2 separate regions of the Homo sapiens genome follow, and region 2 is linked to region 1. Evidence: promoter capture Hi-C in 16 types of primary human blood cells and fetal thymus (Javierre and others, 2016). All regions are on one chromosome and are shown on one strand. Each heading gives the region's core, a stretch centred on a gene start or on the middle of the fragment in contact. The rest is flanking DNA. Distances are from core to core; before and after follow the strand shown. Region 1 holds the start of FTX (FTX transcript, XIST regulator). Region 2 overlaps CHIC1 (cysteine rich hydrophobic domain 1).

Region 1 (5,410 bases), core at 1,990-4,489:
AGATAATTAATAATTAGGGGCATGGAAAAGCAGTGAAAACATCACAATATTGTATCTATAAAATGTTGATGTTTGTCTGTGCCATTGGTAAATAGTGTTGGTGGGGGAAAAGTTGAGTCTCTTATGCATTGAACCTTTGGGGTAATGTGTAGTGATTTCCATATGGCTGAGCCTAGGACCAAGCTCCTTGCCTGAGATGAAGGTAGAAGTAGAAGTTCCTTGGAAGAAACAGAACTAAATCTGTTTGCTGATGAATATTCATCTGTGCATGGTAAAAACACAGCCTCAAACACAAATATAGTGTCATAAAAAATGTTAACGTTAGGCCAGGTGCAAGGGCTCCCACCTGTAATCCCAGCATTTTGGGAGGCCGAGGCGGGCGGATCACGAGGTCAGGAGTTCGAGACCAGCCTGACGAACATGGTGAAACCCCATCTCTACTAAGAATACAAAAATTAGCCGGGCGTGGTGGCGGGCGCCTGTAATCCCAGCTACTCAGGAGGCTAAGACAGGAGAATCGCTTGAACCTGGGAGGCAGAGATTGCAGTGAGCCGAGATCGTGCCATTGCACTCCAGCCTGGGCCACAGAGCAAGACTGTCTCAAAAAAAAAAAAAAGTTAATGTTAAAACATTATATATACATTTTTTCTTTTTCTTTCTTTCCTTTTTTTTTTTTTTTGAGATGGAGTTTCACTCTATCACCCAGGCTGGAGGGCAGTGGCATGATCTCGGCTTACTATAACCTCTGCCTCCCAGGTTCAAGCGAGTCAGCTGCCTCAGCCTCCCGAGTAGCTGGGATTACAGGTGCCCGCCACCACGCCCAGCTAATTTTTGCATGTTTAGTAGAGACGGGGTTTCACCATGTTGGCCAGGCTGGTCTTGAACTCCTGACCTTAACTGATCTGCCTGCCTTGGCTTCCCAAAGTACTGGGATTACAGGTGCGAGCCACTGTGCTTGGCCCCCACCTCTTTTTTTTTTTTTTTTTAAATAGAGACAGGGTATTGCTATGTTGCCAAGGCTGGTTTCGAACTTGTGGTCTCAGGCAATCTTCCTGCATTGGCCTCCCAAAGTGCTGGGATTACAGGCATGAGCCACCACGCCCAGCCAAAACATTATATATTTGAACAAAAATCATAAGAGAACACAAAGATGCTTGCTATGGTTTGAATATGTCTCTCAAAGTTCATATGTTGGAAATTTGATGCCCCATGTGGTGGTGTTGGGAGGTGAGGCTTAAAGGGAGGTGTTTGAGTCATGGGGGCACCACTCTTATGAATAGCTTAATGCTATTATTGAGGGAGTGGGTTTGTTATTTCAGTAGTGGGTTCCTTATTAAAGGATGAGTTCTGGCCCCCTCTTGCGCGCACTCTCTCTTTCTCTATCTCTTTGCCCTTCCACCATGGGATGATGTAGCAGGAAAGCCACTGTCAGATGCCAGCTCCTCAGTCTTGGACTTCCCATTCTCCAGAACTGTGAGGAAATAAATTTCTGTTCTTTATAAATTGCCGAGTCTGCAGTATTTTGTTACAGTGGTACATAATGGACTAAGACAATACTAATGGGTATGAAGTTTCTTTTTGGGGTGATGAAAATATTCTAAAATTGATTGTAGTGGTGGCTGCATAATTCTGTGAATATACTAAAATCCATTGCATTGTACACTTTAAGTTGGTTAACTGTATGATATGTAAATTATATATTAATAAAACCATTAAAACAGAAAAATAACAGAGATAAGAGCATTTGTTAAAATAGTGTTGTAGAATTTGGGGTAAAATTTCTTATATTTTAACTTTTGTGTAATAATAAATGATTATTTTAATTTAGAAGAGGTTCTTTGTACCACTGAGATTTCGGCATTTCTTTTTTATTTAATGCATGCCTATTTCTCTTTTTTCTTCTTCATATGCACATTGTTGTATAATTTTTTGGGCGTATTATATAACAAATGCAAACCCATTTTTCTCTGAATAATGTTGATATAACATTCTTAAGTTAATTTGAGAGGATGGTGATGTATAAGTTTATGAGTTTTAGGATTTATGAATTTGCGGGTCTCAGTTTTTGGTATTTCCAAACTGGCTCTTTTAGAAAGCAATAAGAACCAGACACCAAAGTAAAACATAATAAAGAGAAACAAAATATTATTTTGTATTCTTTCTAGTTCACACCCAAAGAGGGATCTATTTCAGAGCCTCTTAAGTAAATAATGCCATTTCCCTCAAAATTAATATTTGAGTTCTTACAGAAGACAAGAACAGGCCTTGTAGTAAGCAGTGAAGGACATTGAATCTCATTTTTAATGTCCAGACAATACCAGGGTTGTGAATAGAAAGAAAAGAGCTTTCCATGTTGGTGGTCTACTGCCTCTTACCCCCAAATTGATTGAACACTTTTGCAGTTTTTGTTCTGGTTCCCTGTCTCTGGATCTTCCCTGTGGGTCATCATCAAAAAGGTGTTCTCTTTGCCCAAGACAGGCTGGTTGAGCTCACCCTGAGAGCTGCTTTGGAGAGGATGTGTGGAAATATTTTTTTTCTTTTTTTGAGATGGGGTCTCACTCTGTTGCCCAGGCTGGCAACATCATAGCTGGCACAATCATAGCTCACTGTAGCCTCGACTTCCTGGGCTCGAGTGATTCTTCCACCTCAGCCTTCTGAATAGCTGGGAGTACAGGTGCGCACCACCACGCCCGGCTAATTTTTGTATTTATTTGTAGAGACGGGGTTTCGCCATGTCACCCGAGCTGGTCTCGAACTCCTGAACTCAAGGGTTCCGTCCACCTCGGCCTCCCAAAGTGCTGGGATTACAGGTGTGAGCCACCGCGCCCGGGCTACAATTATTTAAAAAAAAATTTTTGCGGTAATTTTTACAAATTTCAACATCAGGCATAGGAGGAGAGGAGTAAGAGGCCCAAGAGGGCTGCAGACTGGCAGGGAAAGTGAAGAATTGAAGGGTAGACCACTAACGATAGCAGAGGAAATAAAGGTAGATGGTGGGCTAAGAATAATGGGAGAGGGATTGACGAAAGAAGTATGGGCTGAGGGAGGGATGATGGTGGAGGCCAGTGTGACCGAGGGGAGGGGAAAGGTGGAAGAAGCAGAGTGGGATAGCGTCCTGGGAAAGAAGTGAAGGAGGTCGGTGGACCGCTAAGGGTTAGACTCCTAGAGGCTGGAGAGCGGCGCGTGGGGGAGGCGGGGCGCGGAGGGGGGGTTAAGGGGCGTTAGCAGCGCATGCGCTGGAAGCACACTGCGGCGATTCTGGAGAGGTTGTCCTTTTCTGGCATCAGCGTTGCGGCTCGAGGCAAAGCTGGTCCTGTGCCTGCTGTCCATTGCCGCTAAGGCCTGCTGCTGCCATTCAGGCGTGTCTCTCTCTCTCTCTCTCTTTCATGCCGCTCTCTCCACCCCATCTTGGGACGGCCAGCTCTAAGAATTCCTGCTACGACACTGAATTCAACCAGGAGGTAAAGGAACGATGTAGGGGAAGAACAGAACATGGAGGGCGGCGGAGGGAACTTGGGCCAGGAAGATCCTTAATTTGTGCATTTTTCCAGTTCACGGGAGGAAAAAATGGAATACGTTACAGGCCCCAGTTTTCCAAAAGGATGTTGAGCATTTGCTTCCCATTGTGAAAGGAATGCGGGTTCCTTTCCTCTAACTAGAGTCAAGGCACCTGAGCATCGGTGTTTTCCATAATGTTCCCTGTTTAAAACATTTGTGGTTCGTCATTTGTAGCAGATGTATTTAAAGGGCGAGGCCTTAGGATTATGTTCATCCGATGGTTTGTGAAAGTTTTCCTTGCCTTTGTTCAGGTTGACCGGTCTTATGTGAATCCTGGGGTACTCTAGCCCCCTCCCTTGGAGTTGGGACCGATTCCATCTAGATCTGGGATTCACTCTGATCACCTGCAACGCCTTCTTTCCCCGATTCAACTTCCCTAGTTTATCGCATCTACTCGCATTAGGGAAGGCTGGTAATGGCTCTCCTTGGGCACTGGGGCAGAATTGTGGCGAGAAACACGTCCAGATAGCATCAGGCATGCATACTGTATACAAATGGGAGCAAGAAGAGAGAGGACTATCGCGGTGCGCAGGGTATTTGAGAGGCTGGATGAGGAGGCGCGGCGCCGAGGGGCGGCGCTCAAGCTTACAGTATTTGAGAAGACCTGAGTTAAGGGGACGGGCTCCAGTGGGGCGGGGGTGGGGAGAGGGAGGCACGCATGCGCAAGGCTTGAATGGCGTCGGGGTTGGAGGGTTGGAAGGTCGGGAAGTGAAGGACTCGCAGGCATATTTAACAACGCAAAGTTGCTAGGAGTTGGTACCAGCGTTTGGGAGGTAGAGGTGGCGCTCATGCATATTTGAGACAACATCTGGATGGTTGGGGAGAACGGTAAGGAGGAAGCGGCGCGCATGCGTATTTCAGACGGAGTGCCGGGGAGGGGAGGCGCTCAGCATTCGGGTAATTAAGGTTGCAAAATGGCGAGGGGGGAGGTAAGCTGTCTTTGCTTGGCCATCTTGGGCTAGCAGGCCTTGCAGAGAACTACCTTTTTAGCTGAGTGAAGGGATCAACCTGAGTTGGAGTTCTCCTATGCTGTGGCCAGATCCACTAGAAATTAACCCAGAATCTTAGCCTCTCAGTGGCCTATCGGTAAGTGGGTACAAAAATGAGGAGGCGATGATGACTCTGCAAAAGGTTGCGGCAGCTGGCGGTGCGTAGGAAATGCGTAAAAAGGGAGCACTTGGAGACAGGCCACATTTGGGCAGTACGCATTCGGAGGGCTCTCTGGCTTTCCGATCTTGGGTCGCTGTACTTGGCTCTGAATACAGTCACCCCATCAGAGTAGCAAAACACTGTGGTTGTAGTGTGAGAATCCAATGTTAATGTTGGCCGAAAGCTCTTGATTTTCTTCCCTGAGAACATAGGCGTGAGGATTTGGATGTGTTTCCAAATGCTTGTTACTCTTTGCCGTAAACCTGGAATTTGGACCTATGGCTGCCTGGGACTCATACTGTCGTGGAGAAAGATTGAAAAGTAGTTAATGGCAGTGGTGGTATGAAGGTAACCTGGGCTTTCACCCTTTCCTTTATTTTTTCTTCTGTAGAACTTTCAGCACGGTTTTGTCAAGGGAGAAGATTAGAGTTTCTATTTTAAAGGCAGATGTACTGTCATGACTCTCTGAAGACTTGCTGTTAATCGCTAAAACTAGTAAGTTAGCACTTAGATACAGACATAGTTAGAAGGAGCACAGGATTAAAAACTGAAAAAAACATCTTTTCCCAGTAATCCTAGCTATTATTTCATGGTGGTCCTTTTCCTTCTCTGGGCCTATTTCTCTCTCTCGCTCATTTATTTATTTACTTTTAGACAGAGTCTTGCTCCGTCGCCCAGGCTGGAGTGCGGTGGCGCGATCTCA
Region 2 (5,410 bases), core at 1,520-4,019, 710 kb after region 1:
TACTTATTATTTAAAAGTTTAAATGAAATCATTCATACAGTACTAGGAAAAACACTTTAGGTAAAATGAATTAATTTTCCTCATTGGCTTCAATTAAAATATTTTAAAGGCATCTTCCCACCAGAGGAAAAAATTTACAAAAACTAATGTGAAATTTTAAAAAAGACAAGATTAAGACAGTACTCTTAAATCCATGACATAAGTAGTAATGCTATGCTAGCATGTTATTGTAACATGTTTAAAACTAAGGATTTGCCCTGCAAACTTTGTAGGTTACTCTCACTTTTGCCTTTCTTCAGATCAGAAGCTCTCCTTTATACCTATAACTTGGAAATACCTTAAGGCACAGCATCAGGTATTTTAAAAAGAATAAGTAGCCCACTTACATTTATAATTACTTAATATTTAACTTATACTGCTTTTATGTGAAATGATGGGAACCCATATTAAATGGTAAAGTGTTGACAAAAGTTGGACAAATAACAATGTACCTGTCCCCAAGTTTCCTTATCTCTAAAATAAAGATAGCATTGTTACAAGAATTAACTAAATTGTGTAAAGTACTTGAAAAGAGTTCATAGCACATAGTAAGTTTTCCATAAATGTTAGTTATTATTATTATTATACAATAAAACAGTTACTCACTCTTTTGTTGAGACAAATAACAGGCCATAGGCTGCAACCCAGTGTGCAACAGCAGCAGAGACAACCACACAGCAGCCATTTCACATTGACCGGGAGAGCCTTTTTCAAACATGCATTCACACGGCCAATGCTGGTTTTAAATTCTTCTGGGGCCACCTACAAGAGGGTACAATCTTTAACAGTTTGTGGGCAGCTTTTCACTGTTTATCTCTAAATCTAAGAAAAACATTTATTACAAATAATTTAAGGAATCACAAATATCTAAATAGATATATTCCCCATAAATATGTTCACGCACTCTAGGATGACGTTGAAAAGCACAACAATATAATTTCAAGTTCATAGAACTTAGCCTGATGTTGAAAATCAATCTTCTGAAATGACCACCAATAAAATGACTGCAATAAAATTGACGGAAAAGGATAACTTTCAAGCCTTTTTCTTACCAAATATTCTCATTATCAAGGCAGTATAATTGATAGTCTCTAGTCATTCTGAGTAAAAGCTGGGTAAGACTAGAAGCATAACACAACAATAAAAAACCCAAATACTACTAGAGAAAATGCAATTAAAATTAGACCTTGGCAATACTCCTGGATTACTTTGAAAAAAGGCAACTCTCAAACCCTTATTCCCTGGCAAATTTGCAATATAACAATTTTAACATTAGCCACTGTTAGTTACACTAACAAAAGACAATGCCTAGTGATTGCATTCAAAACAGCCTGTTAATATTCAGTATAAAATGGATTCATAACTGCGGTAAACTTTTAAAGTTGAAAGGTCTTTAAATACACAAGTTTAATATTTCTAGTTACTACCTCCATTCTTGGAAGTGGCTGCTTGTGCTTCTCTGTAAACAAGGACAAAGTCAGTTCAAAGGCATGCACATGACTGGAATAATTAGATTTATACCAAAAATTCTGCTTGAATGTTATACAATTCAAACATATACTAAAAATAGTTTGCTTTCAGTGAAATCACATTTCTAGATTACAAAAATGATTCCCTTTCATTTAGAAAGCTGTCAGACTATAAAGTTTATGAAAGAACATTTAGCATCTGGCTATAAAAGCAAAAATTAGGCAATGGTTAGGAAAAGTAAGGTATTATAAAATAAAAACCGCATTAGCAGGTTAGGAATCAAAAATATAGAGCTTTACTACTACTATTCCAAATAAAAATTGTACTCGAGGAATCAATTTATTACATTTTTGTCTCTTAATAGAGATGTCTTAGAATCAACACTACAAAACATATACCTATTAGCAAATGTTATAAAAATACATGATCACATAATTCAGCACTAAAGTAAGCTAAACATTACATATATAAGCTTTATTAGAAGTTTTATTAGAATTGTTCATGTCACTCAATAAGGTTAATTGCTTAGCCCATGAATCTGATTTTCTTACTAATATGTTAACAAACAATAGTTGTGAAATTATAAGGCTCAAAACTGTGTTTACACAGAGCAAGTAAACTAATTTCATTCTCCATCTAGACTGTCAGCAACATGATGTAAAGACAATCACTGGGTGCAAAGAATTCCAATTAAATGGCAAAATTTCTAAGTAAATATGAAAACAAATTCACACAGCCTTGCCTTATAATTGAAATTAGAAAACACTAACAAACTTAGTGCACAAGAGTGCACTAAGCACATTAAACTAAGACAAACTAAAAACACTGAAAAACAGATCGAGAGACTTGAATTATAGTTACTTATTAGCTATGAAAAATCCTAGGCAAATTCATTTAATTTTTCTGAGTTTCAGTTTCCCACCGATAAAATGAGAATAATAATCTTTGTTTTATATACTTCACAGAAAATGTAAATTAATCCTTGGAAGTAACCTCCTGCCTGAAATGCTTTGAAAAAGAAAGTCCATAAATCATGTCTCTGAGAAGGTTTGGAGAAAGAAAAGAAACAGCTCTCTTCTGCATGAAGTCTCACCTGAAGGCAATGGGTTTACTCAAGTAACTATTAATATTCCATAGTTTTCCTATATACTACATTATAAACAAAAGGATAATTTGTTTATAATCTGCTGCATGTTAAATGCAGATTCAATGCTCTTTAATTCTTCAGCAAAAAAAAAAGAAAAATCAAGCTCTTCTTTCTAAAAACAAGGTACCAAGTTTCTATCTTAAGATTTACCTCTCCAACAGCAATATTCAACTTCTTTTCTCCTAGGGAATCATTGGGCAACCAAATAGAAGTTAAAATAAAGAAAAAATATGAACATATTTAGCTTTAATCTGTAATATTACATTACTGTCAACTCTCTTTAAATTATGTATCCAGAATAGCTAACATATTTTTAAATATGGTAAATTTTGATATAAACTCATGCAAATCATAAAATTATTAAATCTGTCCATTTACAAATTTAAATGCTTATAATTGGAATTTACATTTTTATTTAAAAAGTAAGTACAAACACAGATGGAAAAAAAATAAAACCAAAAGGTGCAGAAATGAGTCAGTCCAAAAGAAAAAAAAAATTGTTTATAAGGAGCCTTAGAAAAGAAAGCTCCACTTCTACCAGGGATGAAATAGTGTTAGAAGACTGAGGGAGACAAAAGCTAGAGAATAAAAGAGGGAAGAGAAAATAGCTTTTTATTTCAAACACTGTGAATAAAATAAATTGTATGTTGAGGTATATAAAATTTGTTATAAAATTTGCCTTTTATTATATGCTTCTGGAATTGAAAACAAAAACATTACCTAAAAATGTGGTCATTTTCCTTCTTTCCTGCCAACACTTTCTTCTTTTTAACATATAATGGTCTCAATTTCTATTTTCTTACCATAGACGAATTAAAAACTAAAATATTCAAGTTACTAAAAATGAGAATTCAAATTTTTTTTGAGGTCATAAGACAAATATATTGAAAAGAAAAGCTTTTACTAGAGTTTCAAACAATAAACTAAAATCTGCATTTTGACTTTAAAAGGAGACCAGGATTGTCTTTGAAAGAAATCTGTATCTGAGCAACAGTAAAAGTCATAAAACAGAGCTAAAGACATAAGAAGTGAGAATTAGTAAACTCAATTTTAAACAACGTGAAAGAAATGTTTAGTTAACTGTGTAGAATCAGAGTTAACATTTTACTCATTTACTTTCATATAATTGAGTGTCTCTAGCAATGAAGGTTAGACAGCAGAAGACCCTTACTTTCTAGCTGAACAGTAGGTTGTAAAGAAACATTTCATTTCTTTTGGCTTTCTTGGAATGAAAAAAGAAAACCACACCATAAAGGTGGGGTAAAGGGTCATAATATTTTATAACAGGATGCAAGAGACTCTGTAAACAGAAGAAACTCTAAGCAAACCGCAGCAGGACTGATCTGCCTTCTTCAGTCATGGGGAACACAACCCTATCAATCAGCTGTCATACTGTAACACAATAGTAAAGGTCGGTTTTTATTGCTTACAATCCCCAAACACTGCACACTAGTCTCCCCATAACACAGTTTAATTGTTTCAAGCTGAGGGCCAAAAGCTTTACTTTCTTTTCTAAATTTCTGTGGTTCTTCCCTTTTCTGGTCACTAGAATCTGTGTATATACATCTGTTCGATATGAAATAGGGAAAACAATCTTTTCTGCACTTAATATAAAAGGTCATCTTTTTGTTTGCATTAAAAGCATTAACACATAAGAAGCAAAAAATTAATATTGAGCTACAGAGCTTGTCAAAATGGTTTTTTTAGGTTTTCAGACTTCCCTCTGCAATTTTGCTTAGCTCAGGCATCAGGCAGGCATAAAAGCTATTTAGAATCACATTCATATTGGAAGACTGATTTCATAAAAGGTAGATTTTTTTTCTACTTTAGCTATCACAGTTATTCATTTTAAAATATTTTAATGTAAGAGCTGTTAAGTCTGGAATTTAGACCTTTTTTCTTTTATTTTTTTCCTCAGATATACATTAATTATGTTTGCCTTTTCTCTCCAGTTATCTGAGAAGCATTTTGATAATGCAAAGGAACCTAAACAAATGAAAGTGCCTGTCGGAGAAAAATTATCTCATTAATGAGAAAATGAATAAAGCTAATGTTACCACCATGTGACTTTTAAATCAGATCTTCAGAATTCCTTTTAGTGTTTTTCCCATCACCAAACACATGCTAAGAAAAATATCACAGTTATAATTTATGCCTTATCCAACACATGATAGATTTTGTACACTATACATAATGTACACTTAAATACTCAAGTCATTATGACAATGTGCTACAAAAACAATCACTTGAAAAGAATGGATATATTTATGAGCAGCTCATATCCAGATAATTTAGGTTGTGTGAGTGCATACCAAAAGCAGCTTATTATTCTTACTCCTCTAGTTTAAAACAGTCTACTACCTTTGGGGCCACTGGAATTTTTAGTTTCAGAAGGCTTGTAAAGAAATGAGAAGGTGTGAAAAGATATTCTGAAGATTCCTTGAGCATATAAAATTGGCCAATTTTGAAAATGGATAATTTGTATGCCTGGGAATTTTATACACTGACATATTTTTTTGATTATTCATTTCTAGAATTTCTTGGACCTGTATTTCAAAGCCAATGGTAAAGTTGGATATAACTACACCTACAACACATGCAGCAGCATCAAAGGAAACATGAAGAATAAGTTTTTTACTGAAGTTCTTATAATTCACATTCTCTTTAATTTTAATAATGAATTTGCCATCTTTCTACAAAAATACACTATTATTCAAGATATATTTCCATAGCTACTTTATTCATTTGAAAAAA

Evidence for each region. The method cuts DNA at HindIII sites, captures the fragments that hold promoters and counts their contacts. A CHiCAGO score of 5 or more calls a contact.
Region 2: a fragment that was not itself captured here is called in contact with the fragment with the promoter of FTX in region 1 in 1 of 17 cell types (naive CD8 T cells); the score reaches 7.1 in naive CD8 T cells.

The regions. Positions count from the first base shown.
Region 1 is chrX:74,291,403-74,296,812 of GRCh38, reverse strand. It overlaps FTX (FTX transcript, XIST regulator), which reads left to right and starts at 3,239. Exons shown (of 7, transcript NR_028379.1): 1 at 3,239-3,461. It overlaps LOC124905199 (a long non-coding RNA gene), which reads left to right and starts at 4,217. Exons shown (of 2, transcript XR_007068266.1): 1 at 4,217-5,055. RefSeq lists an enhancer at 3,985-4,775. The HindIII fragment of the contact is 8,135 bases long and covers 1-4,144 here.
Region 2 is chrX:73,579,808-73,585,217 of GRCh38, reverse strand. CHIC1 (cysteine rich hydrophobic domain 1) reads right to left here. Exons shown (of 6, transcript NM_001039840.4): 3 at 646-801. Among named protein-coding and RNA genes, the nearest start is that of CHIC1, 19 kb to the right of the region's middle. The HindIII fragment of the contact is 1,572 bases long and covers 1,984-3,555 here.